4 separate regions of the Homo sapiens genome follow, and regions 1, 2 and 3 are each linked to region 4. The links are contacts of gene promoters, found by promoter capture Hi-C in blood cells and fetal thymus (Javierre and others, 2016). All regions are on one chromosome and are shown on one strand. Each heading gives the region's core, a stretch centred on a gene start or on the middle of the fragment in contact. The rest is flanking DNA. Distances are from core to core; before and after follow the strand shown.

Region 1 (3,620 bases), core at 741-3,240, 660 kb after region 4:
GCTGGAGTGCAGTGGCATGATCTTGGCTCACTGCAACCTCCACCTCCTGGGTTCAAGCGATTCTCCTGCCTCAGCCTCCTGAGTAGCTGGGACCACAGGCGAGGGCTACCATGCCCAGAATATTTTTGTATTTTTTTTTTGGTAGAGATGGGGTTTCACCACTTTGGCCAGGCTGGTCTTGAACTCCTGACCTCAAGTGATCCACCTGCCTCGGCCTCCCGAAGTGCTGGGATTACAGGCGTGAGCCACTGCACCCAGCCCTACGAATAATTTTTAAAAATAAATTAGTTGGGTGTGGTGGCACACCTGTGGTTCTAGCTACTCTGTGAGGCTGAGGCAAGAGGATTGCTTGGGTCCAGGAGATCTAGACTGCAATGAGCTGTGATCATGCTACAGCACTCGAAGCCTGGGGAACAGAGCAAGAACTTGTCTCAAAAAAAAAAAAAAAAAGTAAATAAATATTAGACACTTCTCAAGCCCTAGGTCCCAATTGATTGATTTTTTTTTTCTTGGATGCAGGATTCCAAAATACTTCAAGGTCATTATTAAACATTTAAAGTTAATGTCATAATGTTAACGATGCAAGTTTAAGATGCTGATATAAAAAGAAGCTTGAGTAGTTGTCGTGTAATCTTAGGATTAAAGTATAGATTTTAAAATGAAAAACTCTTAGAAAATGGCAAGACGTGATAACTTTTCTTAATAATTGTAGGAGAAAAATTACAAAGCAAAAATGGGCATAGAAAATTTCTGGCTATATATTTAAAAAATAAGAGAAACAAAATGCCAAAAAGTTACTTAAAATAACAGTTTAAAATAGTTTATACAAATACTTCAGAACATCATCTAGCTCTTAATGATCAGATGTTCAAAAATATTCATGGACAACTTGTATAAGAGGAGAAATAACTGATGGTAAATAAACATGGAATAAAAAGTTTGTACTCAGAAATGAAAAATGCCAATTAAATTAGTGATACCACATTGTATATCTGAAATAGCTGAGAATGAGTATATTCTTTCATTTATTATTGTATAACAAATTGGCATAATTGAGTTTTATAGTACATATGAAACAAAAAAAGTTAATGCTATTTTGCCCTGTAATCCCACAATTAAAGCTTTTTGAAAGGAAATAATTCAAATGAGCAATAATACTGTACACGTATAGGTCTATTTAGAAGGGCATTATGTAGTTTTAAAAAATCACTATAATGTAGAAACGAGTTAGTATGAAACTTTAGGACACAAAATGAGATGCCAGTCAATTATAAGTAAGAGGTCTGTGTGGGTAAAAACTGAAAGGTAATAGAAATGAGAAGAGTTCTGGTTGGTAAGAATAAGATAGTTATATATCTTAAAGCTTTCAGTGAAATCTTAACCTTTTAATTTTTTTTTTAGCCTTTTTTTGTTAGTTTTGAGAGAGAGTCTTACTGTGTTGCATAGGCTGGAGTGCAGTGGCACGATCTCAGCTCACTGCAACCTCTGCCTCCTGGGTTCCAATAATTCTCATGCCACAGCCTCCCAAGTAGCTGGGATTACAGGCCTGTGCCATCTTACCTGGCTGATTTTTGTATTTTTAGTAGAGATGGGGTTTTACCGTGTTGGCCAGGCTGGTCCCAAACTCTTGACCTAAAGTCATCCACCTGCTTTGGCTCCCAAAGTGATAGAATTACAGGCGTGAGCCACTGTGCCTGGGCTTTTCAGCCTTTTTTTAATGCAAAGAATTGTGACATGGTTGTAATCATTTTGTGCTTTTATTTATTTATTTTGAGATGGTGTTGTTGCCCAGGCTGAAGTACAGTGACATCATCATAGTTCACTGGAACCTTGAACTCCTGGGCTCAAGTGATTCTTCTGCCTTAGCCTCCTTAGCAGCTGGGACCACAGAGTGCACCACCATGCCTAGCTAATTTTTATTTTTCGTAGAGACAGGGTCTCGCCACATTGCCCAGGCTGATCTTGAACTCCTGAGCTCAAGCAATCCTCCTGCCACAGCCTTCCAAGTAGCTGGTACTACAGGTGTGTACCACTATGCCCAGCTAATATTTTAATTTTTTTGTAGAGATGGGGTTTTGGTGTGTTGCCCAGGCTGAGCAGTAATATTTTGAAAGGAATCTTTTTTTTTTTTCTGAGCAGTAGGTCTCAGTAATGCACTTAAAATATTCAGTATACCGTGCTGTAAGCAGATGTGCTGTCATCCAGGCTTTGTTGTTCCATTTCTAGAGCACAGGCGTAGTAGATTTAGCATAATTCTTAAGTGCTAAAGAATGGCTTAAATGCTTTCAGAATGTTGAATGAGCCTTGGCTTCAACTGAAAGTCACCAGCTACATTAGCCTCTAACAAGAGTCAGCCTGTCCGTTGAGGGTTTGAGGGCAGGCATTGACTTCTCTAGCTAGTAAAGTCCTAAGTGGCATCTTCTTCCACTAGAAGGCTATTTCGTCTACATTGAAAACCTGTTGTTTAGTGCAACCACCTTCATCACTTATCTTAGGTAGATCGTCTGGGAAACTTGTTGTAGTTTTTATATTGGTACTTGATGCCTTATCTTGCCCTTTTATGTTATGGAAATGGGTTCTTAAATCTCATGAACCAGTCTGCTAGCTTTAAGCTTAACTTCTGCAGCTTCCTCACCTCTATTAGCCTTTATAGAATTGAAGAATTAGGACCTACCTCTGAATTAGGCTTTGGCTTTTAAGCGAATGTTGTGGCTGATTTGATCTATCCAGACCACTAAAACTTTGTCCGTATCTGCAATAAGACTGTTTGGCTTACTTACTATTTGTGTGTTCACTGAAGTAGCATTTCTAATTTCCTTAAAGAACTTTTCCTTTGCATTTATACCTTAGCAGTTTGGTGCAAGAAGCCTACCTTTAGGCCTGTCTGGAGTTTCCATATGCCCTCTCCTAAGTTTAATAATTTCTAACTTTTCATTTAAAGTGAGAGATATGCAACTCTTCCTTTCACTTGAGCATTTGGAGGCCATTGTAGGGTTATTAATTGGCCTAATTTCAATATTGTGTCTCAGGGGATAGGGAGGCCCAAGGAGAGGGAGAGACAGAATGGCCAGTCAGCAGCAGTAAGAATATATACGACATTTATTAAGTTCATTGTCTTATGGGCACGGTTGGTAGTGCCCCACAGCAATTACAATAGTAACATCAAAGATCACTGATCACATATCACCATAACAGATACAATAGTAATGAAAAAGTTTGAAATAATTTTAGAAGTACCAAGATGTGACAAAGACAAGAAGTGAGCACATGCTGGTGGGAAAATGGTGCTGATAAACTTGCTCCACACAGGGTTGCCATGAAGCTTTGATTGATTAAAAAAATGCAACATATGCAAAGTGCAATAAAGAGAAGCACAGTAAAATGAGGCATGCCTGTAGTTATTGTGTGCTCTTAAGGAAATTACTATTTTTGAGATGGAGTCTCACTGTCACCCAGGCTGGAGTGCAGTGGTGCGGTCTCCGCTCACTGCAACCTCGCCTCCCAGGTTCAAGTGATTCTCCTACCTCAGCCTCCCAAGTAGCTGGGATTACAGGTGCCTGCCACCACGCCTGGCTAATTTTTTTGTATTTTTAGTACAGATGGGGTTTCACCATGTTGGC
Region 2 (3,439 bases), core at 605-3,104, 900 kb after region 4:
TTTCAGTTGTAGGACAGAGGTCCCTATTTCTTTGTTGGCTGAGCCACTCTCAGTGCTCAGAGGATGCCAGCATTCCTTGCCATGGGGTCCCCTCCATCGCCAAAGCCAGAAACAGAAAAACTCCCTCATGTGAAATCCCTCTCACACTTCCAGTCTCCTCCAGGTAGAGCCCCAACTCTTTTAAGGACTCACCTGATTAGGTTAGGCCCAATGAGGGTAATCTCCCTTCAAGTTAACTGCCAGGTAAAGTAACCTAATCACTGGTAATATCCTTTCATGTTTGTAGGTCCCTCCATATGGGTCATGGGAAGGGGTGATTTTGGAATTCTCCCATATATTTATATGTTTTTAATAACTTGATGGTGGATTTTTTTTTTTTTGAGGCGGAGTTTCATTCTTGTTGCCCAGGCTGGAATGCAATGGCGCACAATGTCTGCTCACTGCAAGCTCCGCCTCCTGGGTTCAAGCAATTCTCCTGCCTCAGCCTCCCCGCCTCCTGGGTTCAAGCAATTCTCCTGCCTCAGCCTCCCGAGTAGCTAGGATTACAAACATTTGCCACCACACCCGGCTAATTTTGTATTTTTAGTAGAGATGGGGTTTCTCCATGTTGGTCAGGCTGGTCTCAAACTCCTGACCTCAGGTGATCTGCTCACCTTGGCCTCCAAAAGTGCTGGGATTACAGGCGTGAGCCACCACATCCAGCCTATTGTGGAAACACAAATAGTAATAAACTCTATGCATGATCCAGCTTCAACAAATATGAACATTTTTTTCCATTCATGATTTTTCAGCAGAATTCCTTTTTTTTCTATGTTTGAAAGTGACATTCAAAACAGGAACCATCTATTTTAGCATTTTATGCAACTGATCACCCAAAAACTGTGGGCCTCAGTATTTGTCATACTGTCTTCAGGGACTTGCAGCTATTTCTAAGTGAATGTTCATAGAATTTATCCAGAGATTATGGCACATAGTGGTTGCTGGGTACATCTAGTCAGATGTCAGGTACAGTATTAAGATATTTTACTTTTAGAGACAGTCTTACTCTGTCACCCAGACTGAAGTGCACTGTCATCATCATAGCTCACTGCAGCCTTGAACTCCTGGGCTCCTGTGATCCTCCCATCTCAGCCTCCCGAGTACTTGGGATTACAGGCATAAGCCTGGCCCTAAAATATTTAAAAATGTATAAAGGGTTCTCTTGAGTATGAGGGAATATTTCCCTCACTAGTTACTTATTGTCTGCTTGTTGCATGCAGCATGTTGGAATATCATTGTGCAAAATGCTTTGAGTTCATAATATCTCACCAGTTAAGAGAATTGAGACAATCTGGTATGAGGACACAAATGGACAAAGTGGACAATGAGTCAGGGAAGAGGACTGCAGTGTGTTTATTATAGATTAACTTTAAAGTCAACAAGCAGAAACTAAGATTGAGAAGCTCATTTGTTGAACTGAGTGGTTTTACAGAAAACTTAAGTACCGCTCAGAGAAGGGAAGCTCCTGGGGGACTGGGAGGACTTTGCACCTTGGCTAAAGTGGAGAGTTTGCAATAAGGACACCATTCAGTCTAATACGGGCTTCTGGGGGATTTCGGGAAATGTGCAGATGAATGACTTCTTAGTTTTCTTAACACAGAGTTTGTGTGTTTCTGAGCTGTCACCAGGGTGAGATAAAAGCTTAGGGGAAACCAGATTCAGGAGTAGAACACAGGCCCTTTAGAGAGACAGCTCAGCTGTGTCTCTGGGGGATAACAGCAATCTTCGCAGGGAATCATAGAGACCAGAATGGTGAAGCTGTGGGCACAATAAATGTCTTGCTTAACGTCACATTGATTTTCCTGAAATTGATCAAATGGAACTTTTATGAATTGAAGCCTGTATCTGTTTATTAAGGAGACATTTACAGAACGTACACACAGAGCAAAGTATGGCGCCAGGGCCCTAGGTGAACTTCTTGGAAGTTTGTAAGTTTGCATTTTTATACACTGGGGATTTCAAGTAACAAAATTTAAAAAGAGAAGCTTATTTTAGGAAATCTGAAAGTTATTTTCAATGGCAGCCCCTCACCTCTACTTCCTAGCTACCTTCCTTTCTTTTCCTCCATAATTTTTTTTTTTTTTTTGAGACGGAGTCTGTGGCCCAGGCTAGAGTGCAGTGGCATCTCGGCTCCCTGCAGCCTCCACCTCCCGGGTTACAGCGATTCTCCTACCTCAGCCTCCCGAGTAGCTGCGATTACAGGCACGCGCCACCACGCCTGGCTAATTTTTGTATTTTTAGTAGAGTCGGGGTTTCTCCATGTTGGCCAGGCTGGTCTCCAACTCCGGACCTCAGGTGATCTGCCCTCCTCGGCCTCCCAAAGTGCTGGGAGCCACTGCACTAGGGCCGGTCCATAATATCTTTATCATCTTGTATAGTGTGTATTTTACACCATATTCGCCCTCACAAGAAAATAAACTGCCAAGGCGGGCGGGGGGGTGGGGGGTTCTTTTTGTTCACTGCTGTATCTTAAATAGGGAGAGGTGCTAAATCTTTGTTGAAAAAAAATAAATGACTGTCGGGAAAGATTTTTAAAAATTACTTATAATCCCATCACCGAAATAGGACTACTTAACATTTGTGTTTCTTTCGCCTTTGAGAGAGGAAGAGCAGTTACTTCGCTTTCGTGATCAGTCTGTTCTACAGCTGGATCTTCCTTTTTAAAATGGCTAAAAACGCTATTTTTGGCTGTATAGTACCCAATCATGCAGGCGGCAGGGAGGGGCTCGCTTTGGCCCTCTTCAGCACGTCACACCCTACCTTTAATCCGCAGCCAACTGTGTGGCGGTCCCCACTTTCGCCTAGCGGCAACTCCCTCCTCCCTGCAATCCTTCCTTCTTATTCCGGTTTCCAGAGCACGTCTCCAGGCTTCGACGTCACCACGCTGGGACGTATGTGCCGAGGGCCGCGGCGTCTGACCTCATGGCGTAGAGCCTAGCAACAGCGCAGGCTCCCAGCCGAGTCCGTTATGGCCGCTGCCGTCCCGAAGAGGATGAGGGGGCCAGCACAAGCGAAACTGCTGCCCGGGTCGGCCATCCAAGCCCTTGTGGGGTTGGCGCGGCCGCTGGTCTTGGCGCTCCTGCTTGTGTCCGCCGCTCTATCCAGTGGTAAAGGGGGGCGGCAGTGTGGGCTTAGGAAGGCTAGGAGGGCTCGGGCGCAGGGCAGGAGACAGGCCGGGCCAGGGAAAGGGCGCTTCCAAGTGTCAGGAGCAGACGGCGGTGTCTGGTTGGGTCAGGGTCTCCGCGGGCCTGAGGACGGAGGGTATGGTGTCTGAAGGGGTCCAAGGTGGTAGGGTCTCCAAGGGGCCTGAGAAGCGGGGTCCCTGAGAGATGCAGGAACCCAGGGAGCAGGCAGCAGGGTGTGTAGATGGGCGGGGAGGGAGGAGTGGTGTTAGCGCCTA
Region 3 (3,371 bases), core at 749-3,248, 710 kb after region 4:
GTAGCCACTGCCTAGATTCTACAACTGAAAACACTTTCAGTATTGATTTTGGTCTTTATGCTGGTATGTATAGTCTAAGTAATCAGCTTCCTGAAACTTTATGGAGTAATTATTCTCCTATTAAGGAAATTTTGGGGCTTTTCCTGCTTTGTTCCTACACCAAATAGTCTCACACATGTGTCTAGGGTATTTGGAATTTGCTGGTTACAATATATGTACATATTCAGCTTTTCTGAGGAGTGCTGGATTAGCTTTCAAAGGGGTTATACCAATTTATACTCTCTAGAAGAGTTTGTGTTTCCTTTCCACTATTGCCCAACAATTAGTATCAGTTTCTTGATTTTTTTTCAATCTAGAGAAGTATCTGTAGTGTTAGTTTTGCTTCTAGTAAAGTTGAGCGTTCCTTATGTTTGGCTATTCAGATTTCATTTATTGGCTGTACATATTAACCCATTTCTCTTTAATGATTTTTGAAAGATTTTATATTCTCTCAGCTAATCATTGTTGTACATATTGCAGGTATCTTCCAGTCATTGTCCTAACTTTTCTTTTTGCATAGAAGCTTTTTAATGTAGTCAAGTACAGTACTCTGTCTGCATGGCTTGCTTTTATCTAATAAGATCTTCTCCCTTCTAGGGTTATAATGATTCTTCAAGCTTCATTTTTGTTTTTCAAGCTTGGCTGTTAATGGCTCAAGTCAACCTCTAGCTAGTTATTATTCCAATATAGGGATAAGTTGTCCCAGCAGTGGAATGAGTACCTTGTGACAAAGTGCCACAGAGGAATGAACTTTTGTTGTTGTAGGTCATTCAGTGGTGCACCCACCACAAGGATGACCCTCCTCCTCCTGAAGATGATGAGAACAAAGAAAAGCGAACAGATGATATCCCTGTTTGGGACCAAGAATTCCTGAAAGTTGACCAAGGAACACTTTTTGAACTCATTCTGGTAAGTTTTTAATGTGTAAGATAGCTCTACTCTAGAGCCTTTAAACACTTCTTATAGATTTAAATTTGCTAACTTCATTGACACTGAATTTTAATACTCTCTAAATTCAAATGTAACGCCATATTTAAATCCACATATCAGTAACACACTAAATGTAAATGGTCTAAACACAGTTAAAAGGCAGAAATTACCAGATCAGAAAAGCAAGCTTAGCTGTGCTGTCTGTAAGAAACCCGCTTTAAATATATAGACAGAACTAGGTTTAAAGAATGGAAGAAGATACGGTACACTAACACGAATCAAAAGAAAGCTGGAGTGACTATATTAAAATAGGTTTGGAGGCAAAGAATATTACCAGGGTTAAAGAGGATTATTTCATACTGATAAGGGGATCAGTTTTTTAAAAAGACATAACAATTATAAATTTTTATCTGGCTAGAAGCAGAACTTCCAAGAAGTGAAACAAAACCCAATAGAACTCAAAGAAGTCCACAAAGTGACAATCATAGAGATTTCAGCACCTCTCTCAATTAATATAACTAGACAGAAATCAGGATAACTTGATATAACACTATTGACCAAATTGTCTTAATGGATATTTATAAAATATTATATATATATATATTTTTGAGACAGAGTTTCACTCTTGTCACACAGGCTGTGGTGCAGTGGCATGATTTTGGCTCACTGCAACCTCCACCTCCCAGGTTCAAGCAATTCTCCTGCCTCAGCCTCCTGAGTAGCTGAGATTACAGGCATGAGCCACCATGCTCAGCTAAGTTTTTGTATTTTTAGTAGAGATGGGGTTTCACCATGTTGGCCAGGATGGTCTTGAACTCCTGACCTCAGGTGATCCACCTACCTAGGCCTCCCAAAGTGTTGGGATTACAGGTGTGAGCCACCGCGCCTGGCCTAAAACATTATATGTAATGATAGCAGAATACATATTCTTTTCAAGTGTATATTACCAAATAGACCATGTTCTGGGCCATAAAACAAGTCTCAGCTGGGTGCGGTGGCTCACGCCTGTGATCCCAACACTTTGGGAGGGTGAGGCGGGTGGATCACTTGAGGCTAGGAGTTCAAGACCAGCCTGGCCAGCATGATGAAACCCCATCTCTACTAAAAATACGAAAATTAGGCCGGGCGCGGTGGCTCACGCCTATAATCCCAGCACTTTGGGAGGCCAAGGTGGGCGGATCACGAGGTCAGGAAATCGAGACCATCCTGGCTAACATGGTGAAACCCCGTCTCTACTGAAAATATAGAAAATTAGCCGGGTGGGGTGGCAGGAACCTGTAGTCTCAGCTACTCGGGAGGCCGAGGCAGGAGAATGGCATGAACCCGGGAGGTGGAGCTTGCAGTGAGCCGATATCGCACCACTGCCCTCCAGCCTGGGTGACAGAGCGAGACTTCGTCTCAAAAAAAAAAAAAAAAAATTAGCTGGGTGAGATGGCACCCACCTGTAATCCCAGCTACTTGGGAGACTGAAGCAAGAGAATTGGCTGAACCTAGGAGGTAGAGATTGCAGTGAGCCGAGATCACGCCACTGAATTCCAGCCTGGGTGACAGAGTGAGACGGTGTCTTAAAAAAAAAGTCTCCATTGTAAAAGGATTCAGGTCATACAAAGTATGTCTTCTGACTGCAATGGAATTAGAAATCACAAACAGAAAGGTATCTGGAAAAATCTGCAACTACTTTTAAACTAACACATTTGCAAGTAACCTATGGGTCAGAGAAGAAATAGAAAGTATTTTGAGCTGAGTGGAAGTAAAACACATGAAAAATCGGTGAGATGCAGCTAAAGAAGTACTTAGAGGGAAATTGATGGAATGAAATACCTATATTATTAGAAAAGAAGAAAAGTTTCAAATCGGTGATCTAAGCTTCCACCTTAAACTAGTAAAAGATGAAATTAACTACAAAGTAAACAGAAGAATGAGAATATTAAAGGGCAGAAATCAATGAAATAGAAAACAGGTAAACAATAAAGTCAATGAAACCAAAACCTGTTTTTTAAAATGAGATCAATATAGTGCTATAACTGCTTACGTTTGAACTCTTTAAGTGTGGACAAATATTTTTGCCAAGACCTGATGTGGTATTTGTGTGCATGTGTACACACATACACAACAGTAGTGGCCGTTATTTCACATTTGAGCTAGTATAGTTTGGTTAAGGAAGCAGAAGGATTCAACATTATAGAGGTATAACAAAGAAGGTCACATAAAAGTCTTTCACAGAAGAACTTAGGAGTGATTTATTCTTCTCCCTTTAATTTCTTAAAATTAGCATTTTAAGCTTTATTAGATACGGAGTGTCAATCATTAACTTTGGATTTAGTTTAAAACATCAAGTATACTTTAAGGAAAACAACTGTCTCTTTACAGGCTGCAAACTACTTAGACATCAAAGGTTTGCT
Region 4 (3,440 bases), core at 678-3,177:
TCTCCCCTCATTCCAACACAATGGAAGCAAGACGGTAGGACAGCTGGTATTTATTCCACACAGGACAGCCACACAGGGCACAGAGCACGGTGGAGGGGCTGAAACAGAAGATATCCAACCCATGCCATCCCCTCTGTGAGGCTAGCAGTTAAGTATAGTGAAAATGCAGAGGTTGGGCTCTGAAGTCAGGCAGACATGGGCTTGAATCAAGGCTCCTCAACTTCTGGCTGTATGACCTTGTCAAAGGACTTATTGGCTCTGAGTCTTAAGTTACTTCTATAAAATGAGCATGATAACATCTACTGCATATGCATTTAAAAATTACTAAGGCCAGGCACGGTGGCTCAAGCCTGTAATCCCAGCACTCTGGGAGGCCGAGGTGGGTGGATCACCTGAGGTCAGGAGTTCCAGACCAGCGTGGCCAACATGGTGGACCATCATCTCTACTAAAAATACAAAAATTAGCCCAGTGTGGTGGCAGGCACCTGTAATCCCAGCTACTCAGGAGGCTGAGGCACGAGAATCGCTTGAACCCGGGAGTCAGAGGTTGCAGTGAGCCAAGATCGCGCCACTGCACTCCAGCCTGGGCAACAGAGCGAGACTCCATCTCAAAAAAAAATAAAAATAAAAATTACATAAACCGGGAGCAGTGGCTCACATCTGTAATCCCAGCACTTTGGGAAACAGGTGGGAGGATCACTTAAGCCCAGGAGTTCAAGGCTGCAGGGAGCCATGATGGGCCACTGCACTCCCGCCTGGGCAACAGAGCAAGCCCTCATCCCTTAAAAAAACAAAAACAAAACAGTAAAGATTCCAAAAGATGATGCTCGTAAAGCACTGAGCACAGCATCTGGTACACAGTGAGCGCTTTCATTCATGGTAATTGTGTTACTATGACTCACCCTTCTCCACAACTCTCTGCTGTCCTGCCTCCATCCAGGACACCCCAGGGAAAAGAAAGACCTGCCTATTCCTGTTAAGGTCTAAATGACAAGCGAGACCGAGGGTCTGGACTTTAACAGGACTATGAGGAGTGGGGTGAAGGAGCATGAAAGTAAGGCCTCCACTCTCCACCCTCGCCATGCCTCTAGAGTGGCTGCCTTCCCTACCGGCAAGTTGGGGGTTACCGGGAGTCTCCCGTGTTTCTCGTCTGTTTTTCATGCAGGGAGCTGAGCAAGACTGGCCTCCTTAAGACAGTGGTCCAGCAGCGTGGACTCCAGACTGGGCTTTGGCGTCAGAGAGACAGGCTTCTGCCACGTATCAGAAGCGCAAACTTAGGCGGGGCCTGAGCATCTTCATCTGTGAAATGGAGACACTAAACGGAACCGATCTGACAGGGTTTGTGGGAGCATTAAATGGGATAATGATGTAAATAAAGCACGATGCACAGTTCCTGGCTCCTAATACGGCCACAACAATGTCGGTATTTGATATAATGTTATTAATAATAAATTGCTTATCACCAGAGGGTATGCCTCAGCAGCGCTTACCGCACTGTCCCTCCTGGCTACCAGCCACGGGCTGAGGGCGGCCTGAACGCGGCCCAACCACCCCCGGGCTCCCGTCCACCGGCCCTCAGCCCACCGGCCCCCTTTCGCGGGCCACCAGCGGGCGGTGCGCGGGGAGAGAAGTCGGGGAGACGCGCCCGGGGAGACGCCAAGAAGGGGCGAGTCGCGCACCGCCGGCCTTCGCGCAGGTCCAGAGCGTCGCCCGGGTGGACCTCAGCTCGCCCCATCATCTCATGCACCGCCCCCGGCCCACACTCACCCTCCACGCCGCGGACGGGAAGTCCCAGCACCCACAGCAATACTTGCCACCAGCCGAGGAGCCGCATGACGCGGGGCGGTCGTCGACCGGCAGCCGGGACCATTGCCCAGGCCGAGAGGCAATCGGCGCACGGCTACGCGAGTCGTGCTGCCAGCCGGAGGAAGGCTGGGGGAGGAGAGCCTGGGAGCGCGGGCGCGGCCCCGCGCCGCCATCTTAACACCTGGCAGCTGTGGCGGGCGCCATCTTGGAGTCGGGCGGACGGCCTCTAGCCGCTGGCCGTCGGCGCTGGACTGGAGACCTCTTTAGGAGCTAAGCGCCAGACGTTGCAGGTCGTTTTGAACTCTGCTGACCCCAGAGTGCAGAGCATGGCTCTGGCAGAGGCCCATGGCCTCCTTTCTTCCCTCGGAAGTCAGAGCTTGGCTACTTGAAGCACTGCGCCCGCCTAAGGAGGGTTTTCCACGCTTCATTCCCAGAGCCAGAAAGGCCCAGGAGCCTTCCTGTTCTAGTGTCCCATCGAGGTGCAGAAACTTTGGAGGCTGCAAATCTTCTAATCGCTTGCCTAACCTGTGCTCCCCTACCTAGGGTTGCCACATAGAATACCTGATACCCAGTTATATTTGAATTTCACATAATGAATATTTTTTACTATAACCCTTATAGTATAAGGGATATACCTTAAAACTGAGCATCCTGTAACTTCGTGACATCTGGCAACCCTAACCCTACCTATCCACTCAGGGCAGGAGAGGTTGGTTTTAACTGATTTACCTTGCAGGGCAATCTCTTTTTAATCATGGTTGGGGCCGTGAGCATCATTGGCTCTGGCTCATGGTGGAGGTGGAGCCACCTCGAGCATAAAGTAGATAGGAAAGGGCTTAGAATGAAGAAAGCATAGATGGGGAGATGAGGAACAGGGCTCTGCATTCCCAAGCAAACGCACAGAGCGGGAGTCTTAAGAGAAAATTCTTGGAATAGAGAGGATGACACCACTAATTGGGGTATTTTGCCGGGGGGCCTGCTAAAATGGAATAAGGCAAGCTTTAAGCAGCCACCAGTCAGTGCTAAATCAGTGCAGAGTGCAGCTTTTCAAACTTATGAGGTTGAAAAAATAGAAACTGATTTAAAATACATCAGTCTATTGGTTAACATAGCAATGGTAAGGGGAACCTGTGCTTTTTGGCCGCTTGGTGAATCCCAACTTCAGCACATGTGATAGTTCACAGTCAGCAGGTTATGTAACTTAAAGTTAAGTTTCTTCAGCTGTAAAGTGGAAATGACGTTATATAGAGTCTTATAGATGAAATGAGATGTAAAGTGATGAGCACAGTGTCCTGGGGCACAGGAAGCATTTCAAAGTGGTAGGCATTATTAATTGAATAATACAATTCTGATGGTGTGGCCATAGTCCCCTTATCTCTATGCCCATCAAAAAGACACTGTTAGGCCAGAAAGATGCATCATTAATCTGTCCCTGTGGATGATTCTTTTATTCTAAATACGTTGGTATGGTTTTGCTGTTGTAGATCCTCAAGTGCCATCTTGTGGGTCCAGAAGAATATGAAACAATGGACATGGATAAAAGAGCCCACAGTTCTAGAGCTTATTACTAGTCATCATTTCGCTAAGTACCTCCCTCACCCCTAACAGTGGAACAACAAACCTTTCCTTTTTAA

Evidence for each region. The method cuts DNA at HindIII sites, captures the fragments that hold promoters and counts their contacts. A CHiCAGO score of 5 or more calls a contact.
Region 1: a fragment that was not itself captured here is called in contact with the fragment with the promoter of TXNDC15 in region 4 in 1 of 17 cell types (fetal thymus); the score reaches 5.0 in fetal thymus.
Region 2: a contact is called between a fragment that was not itself captured here and the fragment with the promoter of TXNDC15 in region 4, in 6 of 17 cell types (total CD8 T cells, fetal thymus, activated CD4 T cells and 3 more). The highest score is 9.0, in total CD8 T cells.
Region 3: a fragment that was not itself captured here is called in contact with the fragment with the promoter of TXNDC15 in region 4 in 4 of 17 cell types (activated CD4 T cells, naive CD8 T cells, naive CD4 T cells and 1 more); the score reaches 6.6 in activated CD4 T cells.

Annotation. Positions count from the first base shown.
Region 1 is chr5:134,211,928-134,215,547 of GRCh38, reverse strand. The region is part of intron 1 of PPP2CA (protein phosphatase 2 catalytic subunit alpha); the gene reads left to right. Among named protein-coding and RNA genes, the nearest start is that of MIR3661, 12 kb to the left of the region's middle. The HindIII fragment of the contact is 1,249 bases long and covers 1,366-2,614 here.
Region 2 is chr5:133,968,153-133,971,591 of GRCh38, reverse strand. C5orf15 (chromosome 5 open reading frame 15) reads left to right here and starts at 2,967. Exons shown (of 3, transcript NM_020199.3): 1 at 2,967-3,146. The coding sequence starts at 3,008. LOC105379183 (a long non-coding RNA gene) reads right to left here and starts at 2,903. Exons shown (of 2, transcript NR_134247.1): 1 at 2,800-2,903; 2 at 1,369-1,841. RefSeq lists an enhancer at 2,824-3,043. The HindIII fragment of the contact is 344 bases long and covers 1,683-2,026 here.
Region 3 is chr5:134,158,564-134,161,934 of GRCh38, reverse strand. SKP1 (S-phase kinase associated protein 1) reads left to right here. Exons shown (of 6, transcript NM_170679.3): 4 at 805-948; 5 at 3,340-3,371. Among named protein-coding and RNA genes, the nearest start is that of SKP1, 17 kb to the left of the region's middle. The HindIII fragment of the contact is 1,679 bases long and covers 1,159-2,837 here.
Region 4 is chr5:134,872,858-134,876,297 of GRCh38, reverse strand. It overlaps TXNDC15 (thioredoxin domain containing 15), which reads right to left and starts at 1,927. Exons shown (of 5, transcript NM_024715.4): 1 at 1,768-1,927. The coding sequence starts at 1,870. It overlaps LOC124901071 (a long non-coding RNA gene), which reads left to right and starts at 900. Exons shown (of 2, transcript XR_007058943.1): 1 at 900-1,054; 2 at 1,166-1,467. RefSeq lists enhancers at 1,292-1,361, 1,255-1,960, 1,892-2,181, 2,202-2,251 and a silencer at 1,542-1,651. The HindIII fragment of the contact is 3,704 bases long and covers 1-2,807 here.